Regions from separate parts of the Homo sapiens genome. Here regions 1 and 2 are each linked to region 3. The links are contacts of gene promoters, found by promoter capture Hi-C in blood cells and fetal thymus (Javierre and others, 2016). All regions are on one chromosome and are shown on one strand. Each heading gives the region's core, a stretch centred on a gene start or on the middle of the fragment in contact. The rest is flanking DNA. Distances are from core to core; before and after follow the strand shown.

Region 1 (4,112 bases), core at 1,218-3,717, 710 kb after region 3:
AAAAAAAAGTCCTGAAATTCTGAACTTGAAATATAATAAAAATTCTAGCATCTATTCAGTAAATGTTGCTAAACACTGGACTATCGTGATAGACCAGAATATTACTCCAGTGACCGGAAGCCTTGAAGTCAGCTTCTGAGCCTCAGGGACTCTATAATTTATTCTAAATCTAAGTAGTCTGATTGCCTAAGACCTTCAAAGGCATTTGCAAAGTTTAACACACCAAAAAACAGGTACAGAGAACAAAAAGGGTGATTGGATGCTTGTTGCTTTATGTCCTATTTGACCCTTTGGTTTTAAATGAGGTAAATTGCTCCAATTAACTCCTGTTGGAGATGGTTTTCTTTCAATGATTCCTTCTGTTCCTTGTTTGACATTGGAAAAGATGTCATTAGTAAAGCATTACATGGCTTTCGGGTTTTATTAAAAGACTGACTGAGTTTACCAAATGCTAGGCTTTTCAGACAACATACCTGTGTGCTGCAATATTGTCATTATTCCCATTTCTGATACGAAAGTCTAATAATTTGAGTGAAGTAGATTAGTTCCAGGTCATGTAGGGTAGAAAGTTTCATGGACTTATGGGCAGAGGAATATGCTGCTGGTAGAGCCCATTGACTTTAGTCTCAACGATGAATTCACGTCAGCTATTTCTGATAGTAGCTACTCCTCTGCTTTTCAGAAGGAAGCTCAGTCCTTCAGGGCTTTCACACTACCCACTTGAATAATACCTCCCTTGCAAGTGAATACAATAAAACTTACTCTTTAACTGGTATTTATTAAGATTTTCACAGCATTCATTAAACTGCTTTCCGAAGGCTATCTCATTCCACTCCACCCCAAAACACCAACTTTCTGAACTCTCATTTTCTCCGAAGGCTCAGTCCTTTAGAACCCAAGAAATCATTCAGTTCAAATGCAACACTTTTCAGCTGAGGACACTGTGATGCAATGAGAGGTTAAGTGGCTCATTCCCACGTATTGGTGGCAGATCAGTCAGGCCAGATCCAGCTCACCTGTCACCTTCTCTCCAACTTTTCCCTACCACTAACCACTCCTTTCCCACTTGCATGACCTTTCCTCCTACCCCTATCACAATCCTCTGCCGTAACATTCACCTTACTTTAAGTTGATCATTTGTTTACATCTGTTTTTTTCCACTTTGAGTTCCTTAAAAGAAGGGATAACATTTTATTCATCTTTAAATGCCTCCCTAAGCCTACAACGGCACGGCCACTCAAAAACTCTCTGTGAAATGAATTCATACATGACCAGGGCTTTACGACATCACCTTCTCTGTGCCTGTTTGTTTTTTCCCATTTACACAATGAAGATGGCATTGACGTGTCTCTCAAGATAATTATGTAGTTACATATGATTGCTACGTGCTTCAAGACCATAAAAAAGCTTTATAAAGCCAACCACGATTACAACCTTTGAAACAATGGAATATACGATTAACAAGTGGAAAGAGATGAGACATACCAGGTAATGCTTATTGTCCATTCCCTATTTCTACCTCCACCCACCACCAGGTAGTAACTCAGAGGTAAAAACATAAACTTGGAATAAGAGAGGAGGGTTTACCTCGGGTCTGGATAAGATTATTAGGACCGATGTCATCACGCTGCCGTCATGCGGGAAGGCACCTAGGTCTGATGAGAGAGGCCCAGGGCAAGATTCCCATATATATAGGTAACACTCAATTCACTGTTGAAATGAGGCTCAAATCAAGAAGGCACGTGGCCTTATCTATTCGAAATTGATTCGTCCTTCAAAAGCAGAAGATATCAGATAATTATAAAAGGGACTGTTAAGGTAGAAAGACTGTCAAACTCTAGGCTACCCTGGCTCTCCTCTGTGGCCATTCTACCAAAATAAAGAGAGGGGGTACAGCATGTCTTATTCACCTTTTGTTCTCCCTTCTCCTAAATGTACCATATAAAATGACTAGAAAACATGTGTCATATGTTGACTAAACGAAGCATTCATTTAGATTTTCCTCCCCAGCAACATGTCTGGAAAAAAAATGATAGGAACATCTTGTTTGGTTATTTTTATTGCGGGCCCTTAATAAGATAGTTGAAGCCAGAGGTGCCTCATTAACCCAACTTTTTACAGCTGATGCCATCCATTGTAGAGTGAAACAGAATCAATAGTCAGATTGTTCCCAACTTGGCTTTGCCCAGCCTCGGAGGTCAGCAGTGGGCACAGAAAACACTGTGAATTACAAGGAGGAGGAGGTAAAGGGGAAGCTCTGACAGAATGAGTCTGCAGCTCCAACCCAGCAGTGAGCTCAATGAGTGGCTGATGTTACTTGTTTTGATGTGTTTGAAGAAATCAACCAGGTTCAGGAGAAAAAAAAAAAAAAAAAAAGTCTATATGCCTCCTGTTGGAAACATCAAATTATCAGGGAGTAGAGGATTTGTGGGTGGGCAGTTGGAACTATGTGAGACGTCATTTCACATCACAGCCTTCTTGGCAGGAGGCAGAGAGGGCTTGTAACACGGACTTGTGGTCTGGAGTTTTTGCCAATGGCTCCTGTTTCCCTAAAGTGCTCTGGATGTGGGAACAGGTCAACATTTTCCCACTTCTCAGCCATACCACTGTCAGTCAGCTCAGAATGTTCAATGCTTTGGCATAAGGAACTGGTGAGGCGGCCCCCATTACCTCCTTTCTTGACGTCAGTGAGGGAGTCATTCCCTGTGGTTCTCTTGTGTGAAATAATTCAGCATTTGTACTTCAATTAAAATTCACAGGTATATATTATTAAATAGCACTGACTCATTCCATGGCTTCTCCTCAGCTGAGGAAGTGCCAAAAATGTTATGATGTCAATGATGAAGAGTGCATTAAAAGTCTTAAGAGTGCGTTAAAACTGAGATTTCCTTGTCAAACAATGTAGGTTCGGGGCTGTGAAGAAAGCACTTCGCCCATCCACAGTATCACTCTGTCCTGTGTCAGATTTTTCTAAAGAAGAAATTTAAGTTCAAGATTCTTTTTGCCTTTGAGGGAGAGAAAAATGATACCTGACTAGAATCCTCTTCCCTTTTGTGAGCTTCATAAAAGCAGTTCAAGGCTCAAGGTATGTCTTTAAAAATAGGGCTGAATCAAATTGAATAATACAACTCGTATTCAATATATCACAGAGGAGAGAAGAGGAAGTATGCCAACATACATCCCTCAGCAGGAAAATAAAAGAGGAGAAAAAGGTTTTCTTGATTTGGTAAAATCAGACTTTTTTATTCACATTTATTATTTTATATTTAATATGCCTAGAAGCACGGCCAGGGGAGCAACAACCCTGGTGCTCTTTTCTCCCTTCTGACCCAAAAGACTGTGCTTCTAGCTCAGACCTGGACACTCTGAGCCACGTGACCCCAGGTAATCACCTCTCTCCACTGCTCTCCATGTCCTCATCTGCAAAATGGACATCACGATCCATGCCCAGAATACCTCCTGGGGTTCCCAGTGTGTGAACATGCTCTGTGTCATAAGCATTCAAAACAATAATATAGGTGAAAATAAAAGCTTTGTGAGCTGCAGACTTTTCACACAAGGGAAGGATCATCACCAAGACCAACGGTAATTCCTCAGATAACACAGATGAGATGTACTATTCATACACATTGGACTATTTAACCTAGGCTGACTCAAGCACATTCAGCACTTCGTGAGAATTAGAAAAGACACCCTTTCTGGAAAGATATAGCCCTGCAGGTCCATAGATTGGTAAGCAAGTACCATCTCTGGGCAAATAGAATAAGACATCCCTTCCACCAGCTGGACAAAGCCCTGTGCCAGGGTTCCAGCCCCCATGTACACTCCCACAGGCATTCTTGCATAACCAAGTTCAACAGTCCTGGCTTTAGCTCTGGCTCTGTTGCTCAAATTCTGTAACCATGGGATCATCTTTACCACCTCTAAGCCTCACTTTCTACCCAAAAAGAAAGATGAAATTGAACTGTGATTTCTACGCCCTCCTTCAGCTGTAAAAGCAACAAATGTCCTAATGGGCTTTTCCATCCTTCTACACAAGGGATTATGTGCCATACGAACTGCAATTTCTAAGCTTCACTTTTTTTTAAGTTGTCTGATGACACTCCCTAAAT
Region 2 (3,937 bases), core at 1,122-3,621, 610 kb after region 3:
TGAATTGATCTGGAATTGCAGACTCGGGAGGGCTTTGATGCTACTCTATCTAGTTGCCTTCCTTGAAGAGGGATTGAGAAGAGAGGTAGGTTATAGAATTAATGATTTTTTTTTGTTCCGTGAGAGTTTATTTCATCCATAGTCTCTAAGATTTAGGGCTCAAGATAGCCATGTGATTTGAGATTTGCATGTAGTATGGCATTTCTTCTGGGAGAGGATGAAAGAGCTAAAGTTCTTGTTTTTTGGTTTTGGTGTAGTAGGCAGGGAGGGTTTTGATTCTACCTTTAGGAAAGGGAGGTGTTGAAAAATTACGCAGGTGTGTGCTGATATTACCTGGCACCTCTATGCATTGTGATACTGAATTACCAGTCTGCCAGCCAAAAGCGTGTAATATAGTATGTCTACTGAGGCAGGTGGTAAAGGTAGGGTCCTAGTCACTGGAATTCTTTTTTTTTCCCCCTTCTCTTTGCAACATATTATTAGTAAAGGAGCTGAATTTACTTGTTTTCCAAAATCCCCTGGAGTTGTTTTATTTGAACATGATATTTGGCTTTAAGCAGCTCACCCCTCGATATTCCAAACTTCCTCCCCTCCCTCCCAAAGCAAAACAAAATTTAGGCAAAGCTTACTTATCCATTTTGACAAGGATATTTTATAAAAAGAAGGAGTTTAGTTCATTTGTTAGTTTTCAGGAACTTCTTTTCCATGTCATTGTTGAAATATTTAGTTCATGTGGATGGCCAAAACTGTCATGTCAGTATACAAGGAAATTTGGTTGAAGATCAGTACAATATTAGGCTCATCATTCTTGCCCATGGGCTGGTGCTTCCTGGGAATGAACAAACTATTGAATATATGTACAGTATGTATACAGAAGAACATATATTAAGTTCTACTTTATATATTTATACATATATGATCAGAAATGGCCAGTAGGGTGTGTGTGTGTGTGTGTGTGTGTGTGTGTGTGTCATCAGAAAGATTACCAACACTTTGTTTTCCACATTCTTTTTTTTTTTTTTTTTTTTTTTTGAGACAGTCTCACTCTATTGCCCAGGCTGTAGTGCAATGGTGTGATCTTGACTCACTGCAACCTCTGCCTCCTGGGTTCAAGCAATTCTCCTGCCTCAGACTTCTGAGTAGCAGAGATTACAGGTGTGCATCACCACACCTAATTTTTATATTTTTAGTAGAGATGGGGTTTCACCATGTTGTCCAGGCTGGTCTCGAACTGCTGACCTTGTGATCCACCCACCTCGGCCTCCCAAAATGCTGGGATTACAGGCATGAGCCACCACGCTTGGCCTTCCACATTCTTTATTAAAGAGTCACTTTGCCAGTGCAAATCTGGTAACTGCGTTCTCTAAGAGATTTGCACCAAATTATAAAATAATCAAATGAGGCCGGACACAGTGTCTCACGCCTATAATCCCAGCACTTCTGGAGATTGAGGCGGGCGGATCACCTGAGGTCAGGAGTTTGAGACCAGCCTGGTCAACATGGTGAAACCCCGTCTTTACCCAAAATACAAAAATTAGCTAGGTGTGGTGGCGGGCGCCTGTAATCCCAGCTACTCAGGAGGCTGAGGCAGGAGAGTCGCTAGAACCTTGGAGGCAGAGGTTGCAGTGAGCTGAGATTGCACCATTGCACTCCAGCCTGGGTGACAGAGCGAAGCTCAGTCTTAGAATAACAAAAATAATCATCATCATCATCATCATTATCATCAAATGGAAGTAACACTATACATTATCTATTTTCCCCTCTATGAATGATTAGCTCAAGATTTGGGGGGATCATGTAAGTTGCCAGTTATTTCTCAGTGAGTGTCAGATATTTATGACTTCTTTGAAGAGGCCAATCGTTTTTGAAAATTATTTCAGATGTGCTTTATTTCCCCCCACCCATCACAGTATTTTATTTCTGATTTCACTTAGATTTGCATAATGCAAAGAGCCACAGTTGCACTGGGGGTCCTTTCTAAATAGGCAACGAGGTTAGTGCAACCCACTGCTGACTTATTGAACCCAGGACCTGATGGAGTAGAGTTGATTCTTAAAGCAATGAGTGGGCATTTTGTGTTGTTTTTATGTTCAAGCTCCCATTGTGAGAATATGGTTACACTTTAGGGAAGAAAACCTCAACTCTTAGACAAACTTCTTTGCTTAACTAAAAATAAGTATATATACTCCTGTAAGAATTTGGTGATCATATTTTTATTTTTGTTAGTAAGATGGCCTCTGAGCTTTACACTTGATTGTCTAATCATATATTTTCTAATCATGTGTTTATTCACTCAAATTCACTCTGGCACGAATACACCAGTTCCACTTTGGCCTCATACTATAACTGTTAAAACTGTGTGGGACGTGGGGAAGAACACTGGTCTGTATGTCAAGATGGTCCCAGTTACTGAGAACTTTTGAGCAAATCTCTTCTCCTTTCTGGGGCTTAGATTCCTCATCGGCGAATAAAGTGGCTGAACCAAATGATCTTTAACTTTGAATTTTCCTGATCTAACTTTTCCTTTTCCTTTTCCTCCCTCTGCCTCCTCCTCCTCCTCCTCCTTCTCTCTCTCTCTCTCTCTCTCTCTCTCTCTGTTGCCTAGGCTGGAGTGCACTGGTCTGAGGATGGCTCACTGTAACCTCAACCTGCTGCACTCAAGTGATCCTCTGCACCTCAGCCTCCTACAGATGCCCCCATACCTGGCTTTTTTTTTTTTAATTTTGTATAGGCAGAGTCTTCTTGTATTGCCCAGACTGGTCTCAAATTCTTGGGTTCAAGCAATACTCCTGCCTAGACCTCCCAAAATGCTGGGATGACAGGCATGAGCCACTGAACTTGGCCCCTGATCTAATGTTCTAAAAAAATCTTAGCAAATGTGTGTTAAACTAAAAATGCTTTGAAATGGGATGACTCAGTAATAGAAACATAGAACCAAGCCCTTGCTTTAAGATGTCAAGTTGGATTTCTACAGAAATTCTGTAATTAGAATATAATATTGTAGTAAAAGCATTATCTTCATAGAACTAAGGAAATCTGAGTTCACTTCTTCATTACCCAAATTTAGTTGTGCAACCTTTAGAAATCATTTTATCAGGGATGCACTCCTGACCCTCTGTGATATCATGAAATACGTATTTGGACTTTGTCCAAGTTTCTTGGCATATAACTCCTAAAATCCTTGGAATTTCCAAAATGCTGCCTTTTTTGTATGCTAATGCTGGCTCATGGGTTCAGAATGGGGGTCTGGTCACTGGAAAGGCAAAGGCACAATTAGAGAGTCAGCCCCACCCCCCAGCCTCCAGGAAGGAGAGAGAGGCTGAAGGTTAAGTTGATCACCACTTGCCAATGGTTTAATCAATCATGGCTAGATAATGAAACCTTCATAAAAACCCAAAAGGACAGGTTTCAGCAAGGTTCAAGATAGTAAAACATGTGGAGAGTTTTAGAGGTTGAAGCCCAGGGAGGGCATGGAAACTCTGCACCTCTCCCCCCATACCACTCCCTAGATGTCTCTTCATCTTCATCCTCTGCAACATCCTTTATAATAAACCAGTAAATGTGTTTCCTTGAATTCTGTAAGCTGCTCCAGCAAATTAATCAAACCCAAATTGGGGTCATGGAAAACCCAATTTGAAGCTGGTTGGTCAGAAGTTCCAGAGGTCTGGATTTGCTCCTGGTTGTGTGTGGAGTCTTGGGAACTGAGTCTTCAACCTGTGCGATATGACAGATCTCCGGGTAGACAGTGTCACAGTTGAATTGGAGGACACCCAGCTTGGTGTCTGCTGCTTGGTGAGTGGTGAAAAACTCCCACACATTTGGCCACAGAAGTCATCTTCTGTGTTGATGATTGTTGCTGTGGTAATGTGAGAGGAGAGGAAAAAACACAGTTTGAGCATTTCCCAAAACATCCTCCAAGCTAAATAGACCCCCATGT
Region 3 (4,327 bases), core at 1,428-3,927:
GCTACAGTAGGCAGATAGCAAAAGTGCTGTCGGTCTGGGGAATTATGAACCATGTTCACTCTCTTTTAACAAGAAGCTATTGTATTTTATTTCTGTTCTCTCTGTTGGAGAAATTCTGAATTCTCAGTCAGAATGTTACATGTGTGTCCTGGAAGGCTCTCACATCTGAGGCCAATTAATTCAGTAAACACTTATCTAGTTTATCTACTTATCTACTTTACTCTGGTTCATAAAAATCTCACTTCACTTGTTTCACTACATTTCTACCACAAGGATATGGTAGGATGAGCTGCAAATAGGAATGAGATAACTTGGAAGACAGCGGACCTGTGTTCCAGTCTCCGACTTACTTCCAGTCAGCAGTGCAACCTTCGGAAATTAGTGTAGGCTAGTTCGTAGTGAGTAAATTTGTGGTACGGATTCAGCTAGAACAAAGAGATATTTTTGGTGTCCATGAAGGAAGATGTCCTCTATGAAGTTTTCTAGAGAACTGGGAAAATGTTGGGAAGTATGAGTCAGTTGACTGCTAACACAACACACACTGGGTATTCCCCTAATGGATTCCATCGTGGGTAATCAACTATCTTTGAGTTCTGGGATGATAAAATATTTCTCCATCATCTTCCACCTTTCCTCCTTCTTTAGTCATGGGACCAGACTGAGTGGGGTAGTGGTGTGGTATTAGGTATTTCTCAGCCCCTCTCTCTTCTGAGTTGATCAAACTTCACTGTTTTCTGTGCTAGGAGAGATGTGAAGGTCATTGCTTTTAACTTAGGCTGTGTCATCAATTTTTATTTGCTATGATGATTCCTATAGGATAGACCACTGGAACAATGAGAAGGAGAGAATTCTACTGGTCACAGACAAGACTCTCTTGATCTGCAAATACGACTTCATCATGCTGAGTTGTGTGCAGCTGCAGCGGATTCCTCTGAGCGCTGTCTATCGCATCTGCCTGGGCAAGTTCACCTTCCCTGGGATGTCCCTGGACAAGTGAGTATATATCTTATACTTGAAGAAGTGGTGCAGCAGGGATGGACCTGCAGGGAAAACAAGCCGAAAATTCAGTTTGGCCCTGTAAACTGGGAGAACCCAAGGGAGGATAGTGAAATCATGAAAGTTGAAATCATTAAACTAGAGTTCCTACTCTATGTCAGCCTCCAGGGATACAACTTTAAGTAAATATATTAGTTCGTTTTCACACTGCTCATAAAGACATACCCCAAACTGGGAATACAAAAAGGTTTATTGAACTGACAGTTCCACATGGCTGGGGAGGCCTCAGAATTATGGCGGGAGGGGAAAGTCTCTTCTTATATGGCCGCAGCAAGAGAAAATGAGGAAGAAGGAAAAGTGGAAACCCCTGTTAAACTCATCAAGTCTCGTGAGACTTATTCACTATCAAGAGACTGGCATAGGCAAGACTGGACCCCATGGTTCAATTACCTCCCCCTGGTTCCCTCCCACAACACATGTGAATTCTGGGAGATACAATTCAGGTTGATATTTTGGTGGGGACACAGCCAAACCATGTCAGTAAATTTGTATTTTAGTATGAGGACGTGACAAATAAATAGCTAATGTAAGGAAGAAAGAGCTGTGGGAACATGGGGAAAATGCACTCAACCTAATTTGTGTGTCACGTAATCAGAGAAAACTTTCAGAAGAAACACTTGAGCCAATATTTAATATTGGGCAGGAGTTAGCCAAAGAAGGAGAACCAAAGGGGAAGAACATTCCAAAGCGGTAGCTAAAAAGAGTAATGCCTCTGGGAATTGAAATTATTCTGTAAAGCTCAGTGGATAGAACCAAAATGGGTAGTAGCTCTTCTTATAAAATGTCTCTTGGGATCATTCCTGGAAGTTCAGTGACGTAGGGGTGGTGAGGTGTGTCAACTGTTTCACAGATGTTGACAATTACCAAGAGACTTGGTGAGGTCTACAGAGGAGAATGCTGAATTAGGTAAGTTCCTGTCATAGTCTTCGAGGCATCTGCCTTTACTAAACATTTTAGATCTAAGCAAGAGAAACAACAGTCTTTCTCTAAGACTGAATGTGAGGTCTTCCCATTGAACCGTGAATTCCTTGCGGGCAAATGTTGATTTTGTTGTCCTTTAAGCACCTGGCATTAGGACTAGCACATAGTAGGGTCTGAAATCTTTTCAATATACAGAAAAAAGCACGAGTTCATCAAGTGACTTGCTTTCCTTACACTATGCATACTACATAAAAAACTTATTTTTGCTTACTCTTTTCATGGATGCAAAAAGTGATTAATTTATTAAGTTCATTAGCTTTTAAAACTGTTGATTTTTTTCAATAATAATATTACACATTGTAAAATATATATTTAAATATTACAAAAATGTTCATTTTCAGGAACTCTCTCTTCTACACCAGACCCTCGGTTCTTCAGCCTTCCCTCCATGGGTGATAGTCAACAGTTTCTTGTGTATTTTTAAATAAATAGTCTATAAATATAAAAGAATAAAAAGTTCTGTATTAGTCCATTGTCACGTTGCTGATAAAGATATACCTGAGATTGGGCAATTTACAAAAGAAAAAGATTTATTGGACTTACAGTTCCACGTGGCTGGGAAGGCCTCACAATCATGGCAGAAGGTGAAAGGCACATCTCACACGGTGGCAACAAGAGAAGAACTTGTCCAGGGAAACTCCTGTTTTTAAAACCATCAGACCTAATGAGACTCATTCACTATCACGAGAACAGCGCAGGAAAAACTTGCTCCCATAATTCAATCACCTCCCACCGGGTTCCTCCCACGACACATGGGAATTGTGGGTGTTACAATTCAAGATGAGATTTGGGTGGGGACATAGTCAAACCATATCAAGGTCTCTCTGTGTACATATGCCTATACACGTTTAAAAGTACATATCTACACACATATTTATTACATATTATTTTACCTAATGAAAGCACATGTCATAAACTGTCCTGCCTCATGCTATAATATCTACCAGTGATATAACTTGGAGGTTTATATAATCATCTATAGATCAATCTCAGTGTTTTTTAATAGTGCAGAATATTACCTCTTAAGCTTAATCTATTTAGCCAGTCCCTCATTGATGTATATCTATTTTTACCGTTGCTACTACAAAGTGCTGCTACAAATATCCTTGCTTACAAGACTTTGCACAAACATGTAATTGTTCCTTTAATGTATTAATGGATTTCTAGAAGTGGAATTTTTAGGTCAAAGTCATGTAAATTTTAACCGATGAGTATTGTCAAATTGCCTTCCAAACAGGTGCTACCAATTAATACTTTCACAAAGTATCAGGGTAATCTTTTCCACACACCCACACCAATATCAAGTATTACAAAACCTTTTTACATTGCCAGTGAGATAGTAAAGAAAAGTCTCTTATTTGGGGTTCAAATTGCATCACTAGAATTTGAAGAACGATATGTGTTTTTATCCTTGGGTTAGAAAGCCATATTATTTATTTTTCTGTGAACTGCCTATTTATGACTATAGCCCATTTTTTTTTTCCTGTTGGGATGTTTAATTTTTTTCTTATTGATTTGTAAGAGCTATTTGTGTATTAGAGAACTGAATTCCTTTTCTGTCCTATATGTTGCAAATAAATTTTTCCCAGTTTGTCATATCTCTTTTAACATTATTATGCTATTTTTCATGACCTTTAGTTTTGGGGTATTGATATGGTTTGGTTGTGTCCCCACCAAAATATCAACCTGGACTCTATCTCCCAGAATTTCCACATGTTGTGGGAGGGACCCATGGAGAGGTAATTGAATCATGGGGGCTGGTCTTTCCAGTGCTATTCTTGTGATAATGAATAAGTCTCATGAGATTTGATGAGTTTATTACGGGGTTCTGCTTTTGCTTCTTGCTCATTTTCTCTTGCTGCCACCATGTAAGAAGTGCCTTTTGCTTCCTGCCATGATTCTGAGGTCTTCCCATCCATGTGAAACTGTAAGTCCAATTAAACCTCTTTTTGTTCCCTGTTTGGGGTATGTCTTTATCAGCAGTGTGAAACAAACTAATACAGGTATCAAATTTCTCATTCTTTCAAGGCTTCTAAATTTATGTCTTTTTGAGAAAAGCTTTCTCCATACTATAATTATAAAGTAAATTTCCAAGTTTTTGTCTAGTAATTTTATTTTACTGTTAACAACGAACTTATATTTCATCTAAAATTTGCCTTGAGTAAAGAAGAAGGTATGCAATCAACTTGAATTTTTATCCAGATGGCAGGCTAGATTTCTCGATATCATATATTTGATATTTTATGTTTATTATTTTATAATGTAGTACTTTTCTCTGTGTGTTTCTGTA

Evidence for each region. The method cuts DNA at HindIII sites, captures the fragments that hold promoters and counts their contacts. A CHiCAGO score of 5 or more calls a contact.
Region 1: a contact is called between a fragment that was not itself captured here and the fragment with the promoter of TPRG1-AS2 in region 3, in 1 of 17 cell types (M2 macrophages). The highest score is 5.6, in M2 macrophages.
Region 2: a contact is called between a fragment that was not itself captured here and the fragment with the promoter of TPRG1-AS2 in region 3, in 2 of 17 cell types (activated CD4 T cells and naive CD8 T cells). The highest score is 5.5, in activated CD4 T cells.

What each region holds. Positions count from the first base shown.
Region 1 is chr3:189,951,096-189,955,207 of GRCh38, forward strand. No RefSeq gene overlaps it. Among named protein-coding and RNA genes, the nearest start is that of MIR944, 120 kb to the left of the region's middle. The HindIII fragment of the contact is 2,124 bases long and covers 1,406-3,529 here.
Region 2 is chr3:189,845,675-189,849,611 of GRCh38, forward strand. The region is part of intron 4 of TP63 (tumor protein p63); the gene reads left to right. Among named protein-coding and RNA genes, the nearest start is that of MIR944, 18 kb to the left of the region's middle. The HindIII fragment of the contact is 3,498 bases long and covers 623-3,937 here.
Region 3 is chr3:189,237,917-189,242,243 of GRCh38, forward strand. It overlaps TPRG1-AS2 (TPRG1 antisense RNA 2), which reads right to left and starts at 2,678. Exons shown (of 3, transcript NR_046722.1): 1 at 2,581-2,678; 2 at 2,361-2,470; 3 at 770-1,040. TPRG1 (tumor protein p63 regulated 1) reads left to right here. Exons shown (of 6, transcript NM_198485.4): 4 at 817-993. RefSeq lists an enhancer at 561-1,760. The HindIII fragment of the contact is 9,051 bases long and covers 1-3,062 here.